3 separate regions of the Homo sapiens genome follow, and all the other regions are linked to region 1. Evidence: promoter capture Hi-C in 16 types of primary human blood cells and fetal thymus (Javierre and others, 2016). All regions are on one chromosome and are shown on one strand. Each heading gives the region's core, a stretch centred on a gene start or on the middle of the fragment in contact. The rest is flanking DNA. Distances are from core to core; before and after follow the strand shown. Region 1 holds the start of FAIM (Fas apoptotic inhibitory molecule). Region 2 overlaps ARMC8 (armadillo repeat containing 8). Region 3 overlaps MRAS (muscle RAS oncogene homolog).

Region 1 (3,063 bases), core at 254-2,753:
AAGGGGCTAGGAAGAAGAATCCCTGGTGCTGCAATTTTTGTGTTTTTTTTGTTTTTGTTTTTGAGACGAAGTATCACTCTGTGGCTCAGGCTGCAGTACAGTGAGGCGATCTCAGTTCGCTGCAACTGCCACCTCCCAAGGTCAAGTGATTCTCCTGCCTCAGCCTCCTGAGTAGCTGGGATTACAGACGCATGCCACCACGCCCGGCTAATTTTTGTATTTTTAGTAGAGCTAGGGTTTCACCACGTTGGCCAGGCTGGTCTCAAACTTCTGACCTCAGGCAATCCGCACCTGGCCTCCCAGAGTGCTGGGATTACAGGTGTAAGCCACTGTGCCCGGCTGTTTTTTTTTTTTTTTTTTTTTGAGACAGAGTCTTGCTCTTCGCCCAGGCTGGAGTGCAGTGGCTCAATCTCAGCTCACTCCAACCTCCACCTCCCAGGTTGAAGCGATTCTCCTGCCTCAGCCTCCCAAGTAGTTGGGACTACAGGCATGCACCACCACGCCCCTCTAAGTTTTATATTTTCAGTAGTGACGGGGTTTTGCCATGCCTGCCTCAGCATCCCAAAGTGCTGGGATTACAGGCGTGAGCCACTGAGCCCGGCTGTTTCTTTTTGTGTGTGTTTTTTTTAATGAAACAGGGTCTCGCTCTGTTGCCCAGGCTGGAGTGTAGTGGTGCAATCACAGCTCTCTGCAGCCTCTACCTCCCTTCAGGGCCCAAGCAATTCTCCCACCTCAGCGTCCCAAGTAGCTAGGATTACAGGCCTGAGCCGCTAATTATTTTCTTTTCTTCTTTCTCATTCTCTCTCTCTCTTTTTTTTTTTTTTTACCATGTTGCCCAGGCTGGTCTTGAACTCCTGGACTCAAGAGATCCGCCACTCTGCCTCCCAAAATGCCGTGATTACAGGTATGAGCCACCACACCCAGCAATGCTGCAAGTCTTATGGGCCAGGATAGTGTAATCTAAGAAATGATATATGAAGAACTCTCACAATAGGGAAGAGGTGAGGAGTGTCCAGGCAGAGAGAAGAGCATTTGCAGAGGCCCTGGGCGAGAAGAAACCTGCATCCTTTAAGGACCTAAATGAAGCCAAGCAGGCAGAGGCTAGATCACACATGGGGGCTTCATGCCCACCTTAAGTAGTTTGGGTCTTTAAAAAAGGAATGAGACTCATAAAGAGGTTTTAAGGAGCGAATGCTATTGCTGCCATGAACAGATATTCCTTCCCCATAGCTGCAGAGCAGGCACAGGGCTGTTTTTGCCCGCCAGTATGTCCCCACCGTCTAGCCCAGAGCGGGGCCAGCGGCCGGCTCCTACCCACACTTGCTGGCAGGAAGACTGGACGCACTGCGGGACATGGTGATGTCCTGGGTTGGGGCTGAGGAAGGCCTATGCGCGGAGGGTGCGGCCTTCGGCTAAGGCAGAGGACCAGGGTTGGGTCCGTGGCGGCGGGAGGGGTGGCCTCCTGCGCTGGTCGCCCCAGGGGACCTGAGAGGCGCGACAAACAGTCGGCGCGTTTGGTACTCGCGCCTGCAGAGCTTTCAACCTCCGCGCCGGCTGCGCCTGTTTCTCGGCCAGGGGAGCAAGGCCACGCGGCCTACGCAGCCGAGTCGGAACCAACCGGTTGTTTGGTGAAACCTACCCCAGAGCCTCCCGCGGCCCACAGAGCACAGGTGAGGCAGCAGACCGGGTGGGGTCGGTGTCGCGCCTGCGCCCGCCCGGACGCCTCGGGCCCGCCCGCTCCGCACCCTGGAAACCCCTGCACTCAGCCCCCCGGCGTCCCCACGCTCTCGGCCCTGCTGCGCCGGCGGCGGCCATCTCTGGGCGGCGGCGGCGGGCGGTGTTTGCGCGGTCGGTGAGACCCGCGCGGGTGAGACGCTGGGTGAGTTCCGGACGCTTCCAGCCGGCCCGCCGGTGATCCCAGACCTCGGGGCGGGACGCGGCTCCCGCTCACCGCCGGCAAAGGTGGAGGTGCGGCGGGGCGCGGGGCGCGGGGCCAGCCCGGGGCGGTGCGGGGGCGTCCCTGCCTAGCGAGGCCCTGCCCCGCGACCTGCCGCACCCTCCTCCGGCCTGTTCGCGACCTCTAAAGATAATACTTCTCACTGTCGAAAACGTGGAACAGAAAGCAAGGAAGCAAGCAAAGCAGCCGTGCCGCTGCTCCCCAGAGACAAGCTGCGTTAACATGAGGGTGTATATTCTTCCAGATGGTTTTTCCTTGTAACATGAGCGGGGCTTGTTTTTGCAGAACCTGCATCATAAAGTGCTGAAACTCTCTCTCTCTCTCTCTCTCTCTCTCTCTCTCTCTCTCTCTCGACTCTCTCTCTCTCGACTCTCTCTCTCTCTCTCTCGACTCTCTCTCTCTCTCTCTCTCTCTCTCGACTGTACATTCCTGTGTGTCAGGTTGACTACCTCATCCATCCCTGACTCTTGGCATGGCTTTGGACTGTGATTTACTAAATGTAGTTTCTCCCTGATGGTGAGCGTACAAGTGGTTTTCAGTTTTTAGTTATTGCAAAAAGTAATTCATTGAGCATCGTTGTATCTGGGTTTTTGAGCGTGATCATTTCTGTAGAAAGAATCGCACAAGATTCGTTCTAAAACAAGATAGAATCCACGGTCTATACCACAAGGCTTCTGGTATAGATTGTGAAATGGCCCTCAGAAAAGTTATTCTCCTTTTTGTACCTCCAGTAAGTAGCATTTGGGAATACTTGGCTCGAGGAGCTTCCTGAGTGATTTTACTGGAGACCCCCCTCACTTCATAAGGGGCCGGCCCGGAGATGAAGATGTCAACACTTGAGTGTGACTTGCATTATTGGCTGGCCCTACCTGGGGGCCTTTGCTGAAAAGGGAACCATGAGCATCTTAGTAACTACTATCATCTAGTAATTTTTAAACTGACTTCGGTTTATCTTGAACGAACCATTTCAGTCCCCAGTAAGAATAAACCTAAGTTAAGGCAAAATTCAGGTGGATTAGATGAACAGTGGCAACGTGTTGGTGTTTAAGTCATGCTCTGAAACTTAGGTGTTGGGTTGCTAGGGAAGGGATTTTAAAAGATTGATG
Region 2 (3,063 bases), core at 242-2,741, 390 kb before region 1:
AACTCACTCCCTACTCTTAGAGCTGAGCGTGAGGGTGGCCTGTATTCCTTTGTATCCAAAGTATTGGTAGGTACCCTTTCTAGAAGAACTCAATTCTGTACTGGAAGTCTTTCGCCAGTACTCAGGATATCTCTCACTTTCTACAATACGCCGTTTTACAGCCCCCACATTCACTCTGCACCTATCTCTATCCCTTCATTAGTACTTTAGGTGAAAAAAGGTTAGTGCTTTTACTTTGTCAAATCTAAGATATTGCATAATGAAGTAGAATGATCTTTGATTTTTCTTCAGTGCTGTCTCAACATACTTTATTTTTTCTTCCCCTTAATTCAGAGACATGAAAAATGCTGTAATTGGAAACAACAAGCAGAAAGCCAATCTCATTGTTTTAGGAGCTGTTCCAAGGTATGTTTGCTGTCTCACCCCTTTCTTGCCATTCATACTAGTTTCTAATGTATTTCTTACTCTCAATTATAGAACCCATTTTTCCTGTATTGTCTGTCTAATTCTTAAAATAAATCCTATTTTTAAAAATAAATGTAAGTATTTAAACTATCTTTAAGGAAAAAAATTATAAAGTAACAGAGAATGTAGTAAGAAGTGAATGTGTTAATACATTTTGGAAACTCAGGAAGACCTTTGACCTGATGACAAAAGGGTTCGTAAAGTACATATGCAATGTACAACAGCCTGATACTTTCTTCTCCATTTCCTTAGAGCCTTGGCAGTTTTTTGTGTGAGTGGGTAATTTATTAGGAGCCTTAAGACCTTTTTGAATTTAAAGGAAAAAAACCCTGCTTGATTTTTAATCCAGTTTCATTTTTTAACTTCTGATTTTTACAACTTGCTGTTTTTTAAGTTAACGTAAGAAGTTTAGGAAGTTTAATTTCTTCTTTTGATGACCTAATAAGCTTCCTTTAGGCAGGCAATGACAGTTACATAACTTCCTCTTTACTTTTGCTCCTCAGAGCTAAGTTTTCTGTGCAATTGCTATTAGCTTTTCATTCAGAATTATTTATTATTTTGTTTTTTTCTCCTTATTTTCTGGTTTTGATACAGAATTAATGGTTTAAGTGTTTTAACTCACCAACCTCAAACATATACTTTAGTAACTATAAAGCTGTCAGCAGCCTTTCTTAGGGGATTTATGTTTGGTATATATAAATAGTGCTTTATGGAGCATGAGGGTCCTGTCTTAGAACATAAGGTAGATGGTTATAAGTGGAGGAAGGTTAGGGTTTGGGGAGTATTTGTTTGGCAAGCTGGGCTGGAGTGGAAATGAGAGGATCTCTTCCTTTTCCAAATGAGAGAGCTGGAGAAAGAAGAAACTACCTTTGCTTGAGGAGCTGCACAAGGGCTCTGAATATTCCCTATAGGCTCGATATCTACAAACTGCACCACTGCTCTGGATTCAGAGCAGTAGCATTTCTAGTTTGAGTTTAAGATCTGGCAGCACATGGCATTTGAGAGTCTTCATATTTTGGAGACCCAGCAGGAAGTGGTAGATGACATGGACTCTGATGACGCTGTTTCTACAGAGACTATCTGTGGACAACTTTCAGATTTACACTTTTTATAAACTCTAAGAATATGATAGTTCTTTTTTTCAAAACCTCTTCTAGATTTTTTTTCCAGATGTTTCTTTAATTAGCAGATGAGATAAACAAATGACCATTGGATTCATATAAACTCAGCCAACCATATTTTTAGTATGTGGACTGCACAGCCTTTTTTGGTCACATTGAGTCTTGTTTAAATTTTTTAGTCTCTTCGTTTATTAAGTTCCTTCTTTTTAGATTGTTGTACTTGCTTCAGCAAGAAACCTCAAGCACAGAGCTGAAAACTGAATGTGCAGTGGTGTTGGGAAGTCTTGCTATGGGTACTGAAAACAATGTCAAGTCTCTACTGGACTGCCATATTATCCCTGCCTTATTGCAAGGTATGTAGGGAAGCCATTTTTGCTCAATTAAGGTTAAGAATCAGTTTGCAGTGCTTTAAATACTGGTTGAAAGGATTAGTCCTAAATCTCATTTCTGTTAATAGGACTACTGTCCCCAGACCTGAAGTTTATTGAAGCTTGCCTCCGATGCCTGCGTACCATCTTCACCAGTCCTGTCACTCCAGAGGAGCTACTGTATACAGTGAGTTTTAGATGTATTTGAGACATTAGTTACATTTCACCAACAGCCTACTCCTAATTTGCTTAGCATCTTCAGACTCATCATAACTGTGTTATGTAAAAAAGTCTCAGTTGGTCATGGTGGCTCACACCAGTAATCCCAGTGCTTTGGGAGGCTGAGGTGGGAGGATTGCTTGAGGCCAGGAGTTCAAGATCAACCAGAGTGACATAACAAGACTCCATCTCTTTTTTTTTTTTTTTTTTTGAGGTGGAGTCTTGCTCTGTCACCCAGGCTAGAGTGCAGTGGCGCGATCTCGGCTCACTGCAACCTTCACCCTGCCAGGTTTAAGCATTTCTCTGCCTCAGCGTCTGGAGTAGCTTGGATTACAGGCGCGTGCCACCACACCCGGCTAATTTTTTGTATTTTTAGGAGAGATAGGGTTTCACCATCTTGGCCAGGCTGGTCTTGAACTCCTGACCTTGTGATCCACCCGCCTCGGCCTCCCAAAGTGCTGGGATTACAGGTGTGAGCCACTGCGCCCGACAACAAGACTCCATCTCTACAAGAAAAAAATAAAAATAAATTAGCCTGGTGCAATGGCTCATGCCTATAGTCCTAGCTCATGAGACTGCAGTGGAAGGATTGCTTGAGCCTAGGAGTTTGAGGTTATACTAAGCTATGATGGTGCCCCTGCACCTCAGCCTAGGTGACAGAATGAGATCCTCTCACTAAAAATAAAAAATGATAAAAGTCTCCGCTGGGTACAGTGGCTCACGCCTGTAATCCTAGCAGTTTGGGAGTTCAAGATGGATATATCACCTGAGGCCAGGAGTTCGAGACCAGCCTGGCCAACACGGTGAAACTCCCATTTCTATTAAAACTACAGAAATTAACCGGGCACGGTGGCACATACCTGCAACACCAGCTACTCGGGAGGCTGAGC
Region 3 (3,063 bases), core at 224-2,723, 260 kb before region 1:
AGCACAAAGTGACAAGCCAGTGTGGTAAGTGCTGAGATTCGGTAAGCCCAGGGGTTGTGGGAGCCCCTAGGGGTCCCTACTGCAGAGTGGGAGGTGAGAGAAGGCCGCCTAGAGGAGTTAATGTCTGGCTGGCCGCAGCGTATACACTGGACACCCAGTTAGACTCTGGCTAGAGCTGAGGTCTGTTCTGGCCTGGGGCAAAGTGGAGTCTGGAGAGGTGGACAGAGTCCATCAAGGCCACTGGGGCCTTGATCATAGAGCTCTGCCATTGCCCCTACTCCCCAATGGCCCCTGATGGTGTGGAACCTCCCTGGCCTTGCTCCTCTAGGACTCACTCTGTCCTGGACCTGACCAGAGAGGGTGGCTGACAAGGCTCGGAATCGTGGCCTCCAGAGGTTTGTCTGGCAGCAGAAGTAAGATGGAGATATGACTTTAAGAGCTCTGAAACTCCACTGTAATAACAGCAACCAACAGGGCTTCCAAAGACCAGGCACTTGAAGTGGATTTGCTCATCATTTGACAAGACACCTCTTGACAAGACACCTCCAGAAGGATTTTGTTTATTGTAAAGGATGGAGGAACTGGGGTGAAAAAGAGCCAACAGCTTGCCCAAGATCATATCTGAAGTCCATGCTTTTGGCCACGTGGCTGTCCTGGGCTTCGGAAGGCTCTGGTGCAGCCTGTGTTAGAGTTTTGTAATATATTGTTTTATAATTATTCACTATAGACATTCACTGGTGGGTTGAAGTGTGAGGCAGTGAGCTGTGGGTATTAATAACTGACTCGTGTCAGAAGCTTAGCAGTGAACAAAGCACTTTCTCGGATACGGTTCTTAGAGCTTCTCCTGCTTCTTTTCCCGGGGAAGAAACTTGAGCTGCTAACATTTTGTAAACCTCCTAATTTCCTGTAAATCACATGTCCCTGCTGAGTGGGGCTGAAAATGTTTCGGGCAATGGTTTTCACCCTTAGGTCTGTTCACACTGCCCAGCAGCCAGTTAGCTTCTCTCTGTAGTTTATGGTGTAGTTTGTCCTTTTTCTGCCGGGGTGGGAGGCATGGGGCTTTCATGCTCTGGGGTTTTTGAGGTCTGCCAGCCTCTGGGGAGGGAGGTGTTGGGCAAGCCTCGTGCTCTGGTGGAAACTGACCCCCTAGATGTGACCTCGGCATTTCCTAAAGCTGGGGGCGGGACTGGGGTAGGCGGTAGTCAAGGCCCTTTGGTGAAGCAAGCGATTGTCTCCAGCGTTGTCAGCTTCGCTCCTCCATAAGACAGTTGCTAATTTCCACCTCTGTTTTCACCTACATAAGACACTTTATGACAGGTTTAACTTTTATGTTATTATTAGCTCTAGCCACTGGTATTTCATACTCAGTTCGTCTGAGCTACTTATAAAGTGACAAGTCCAGCCAGGGCAACATGGTGAAACTCCGTCTCTACAAAAATTAGCTGGGCCTGGTGGCATGCACCTGTAGTCTTAGCTACTTGGGAGGCTGAGGTGGGAGGATTGCTTAAGCCCAGAAGGCAGAGGTTGGAGTGAGCCATGATCACGCCACTGCACTCCAGCTTGGGTGACAGAGCAAGACCCTGTCTCAAAAAAAAAAAAAAAAAAAAAAGTGACAAGTCAGTTACCCTTGGGGTTGGTTTGGTTCCTAAGCTCTAGTGATCACCTGGAACCAGGAATGACTATTGGCCTCTGATAAATTAGGCTCCTGGGATGACTGGTCCTAACCTCAGTCAGAATCACATGTTGACCAGCCTCCTGGATCTAGTGAGTTCTCAGGGAAATGTGGCTTCCATAATATATTTCACATCAGATTTAACCATTGTAATCTGTTCTGCCAATGAAATGCCCCCAAACAGAGTGTGTCTCCCTGAAAGCAATTGAAAAACATACCTGCTCATGAGCATTGTGTAGTTTGTACAAGCATACTCATGTGAACTGAATGGGAATGCATTCTTGTGCAATGCTGGAATGTTCTTAAGTGTCCAGAGGATGTGCATTGAGTTCCAGAGGCTCTGTACCTGCCAGGCCCTGGGCAGGCATAGAAGGTACAGTCACCTTTATCTGGAGACAGGTAAAAAAGGAGCTGGAGGAGTTCCCTGAGACCTGGGACACCTGGCAGGTACCCATTGTCTAGGGACTCAGCAGAGAATTCAAGCTTTAAGAGGAATTTTCTTGCTGGACTCTGAGTCCCTGTCAGCCCTCCTAAGTCTTAGATCATGCCTCTGAGCCCTGTAGTACTGAATCAATGGGGATGCTTTGGCTGCAAGTAACAAAACCCAAATAACAGTAAGTAAGATTAAGCAGAGCTCAGATCTCCCAAAGATGCTCTCTGCTCTTGGAAGGTCTCTGTACACAGGAATGGGATATCAGTGCCACTTCCAGCAAGTTCCTGCATGGGACAGGTAGCCATAAAGGCTGAGTGTCTGGAGTTCAGAGTAATAGGTTTTGTCTTCTTGAGTCACAGCCTCTTTAATATGTTGATGAGAAGCCCAGGGAACGTTGATGTACAAAGTTGGACATATAATTCAGGGGATTCATGGATCTCTGAAAACCAGCCCTGGATCCCAGTTTAGCCATCTCTGATCTAAAGGCACGTGACTTCTCTAATGTTCATGGCAGACCTATTCTGTAAGCCCATTGTGCAGCCAAGTCAGCATGCCATTCCAGTGCAGTGTGAGAGGGCAGAGATGGGGGCCAAGAGTACAAATAGAGTGGGACAGTTGTCATTGCCCAGCCTGTGAGTTGAAGTCTGTGCAGTCAGCCAGTGGGTCTGACAAAGAGGGCAGTGCTGGCACTGCCTCATGCTTCCGCAGAGGTGATGAGGTTCAGGCTGAGGTGGAGACCACGCTGCACTCGCCATGCATTCAATGGTGCCCCATCTCTTGTTCTCTAGGAAGCATTCCCGCTACCTGTGTGATGCAGTTGGTTCCACCTATTCCCAGAGACTCCACCCTGGCCCTCCTTGCCCTGGCCCCCAGCACTGAGCCCCTAGGGCCATTTAGCTGGCCAGCATGATCTAAGACAGCTTTCTGCAGGCATTCCTCTTGTAGGAGTCATGAAGCA

What was found. Contacts are between HindIII fragments. The CHiCAGO score rates a contact against its expected background, and 5 or more counts as called.
Region 2: a fragment that was not itself captured here is called in contact with the fragment with the promoter of FAIM in region 1 in 8 of 17 cell types (M1 macrophages, M2 macrophages, naive CD8 T cells and 5 more); the score reaches 8.4 in M1 macrophages.
Region 3: a fragment that was not itself captured here is called in contact with the fragment with the promoter of FAIM in region 1 in 3 of 17 cell types (M0 macrophages, M2 macrophages and M1 macrophages); the score reaches 8.2 in M0 macrophages.

What each region holds. Positions count from the first base shown.
Region 1 is chr3:138,607,268-138,610,330 of GRCh38, forward strand. FAIM (Fas apoptotic inhibitory molecule) reads left to right here and starts at 1,504. Exons shown (of 6, transcript NM_001033031.2): 1 at 1,504-1,670. RefSeq lists a silencer at 1,592-2,051 and an enhancer at 2,152-2,241. The HindIII fragment of the contact is 4,797 bases long and covers 1-3,063 here.
Region 2 is chr3:138,221,593-138,224,655 of GRCh38, forward strand. ARMC8 (armadillo repeat containing 8) reads left to right here. Exons shown (of 22, transcript NM_001363941.2): 3 at 334-405; 4 at 1,797-1,939; 5 at 2,044-2,141. Among named protein-coding and RNA genes, the nearest start is that of ARMC8, 36 kb to the left of the region's middle. The HindIII fragment of the contact is 1,165 bases long and covers 910-2,074 here.
Region 3 is chr3:138,349,356-138,352,418 of GRCh38, forward strand. The region is part of intron 1 of MRAS (muscle RAS oncogene homolog); the gene reads left to right. Among named protein-coding and RNA genes, the nearest start is that of MRAS, 2.3 kb to the left of the region's middle. The HindIII fragment of the contact is 1,360 bases long and covers 794-2,153 here.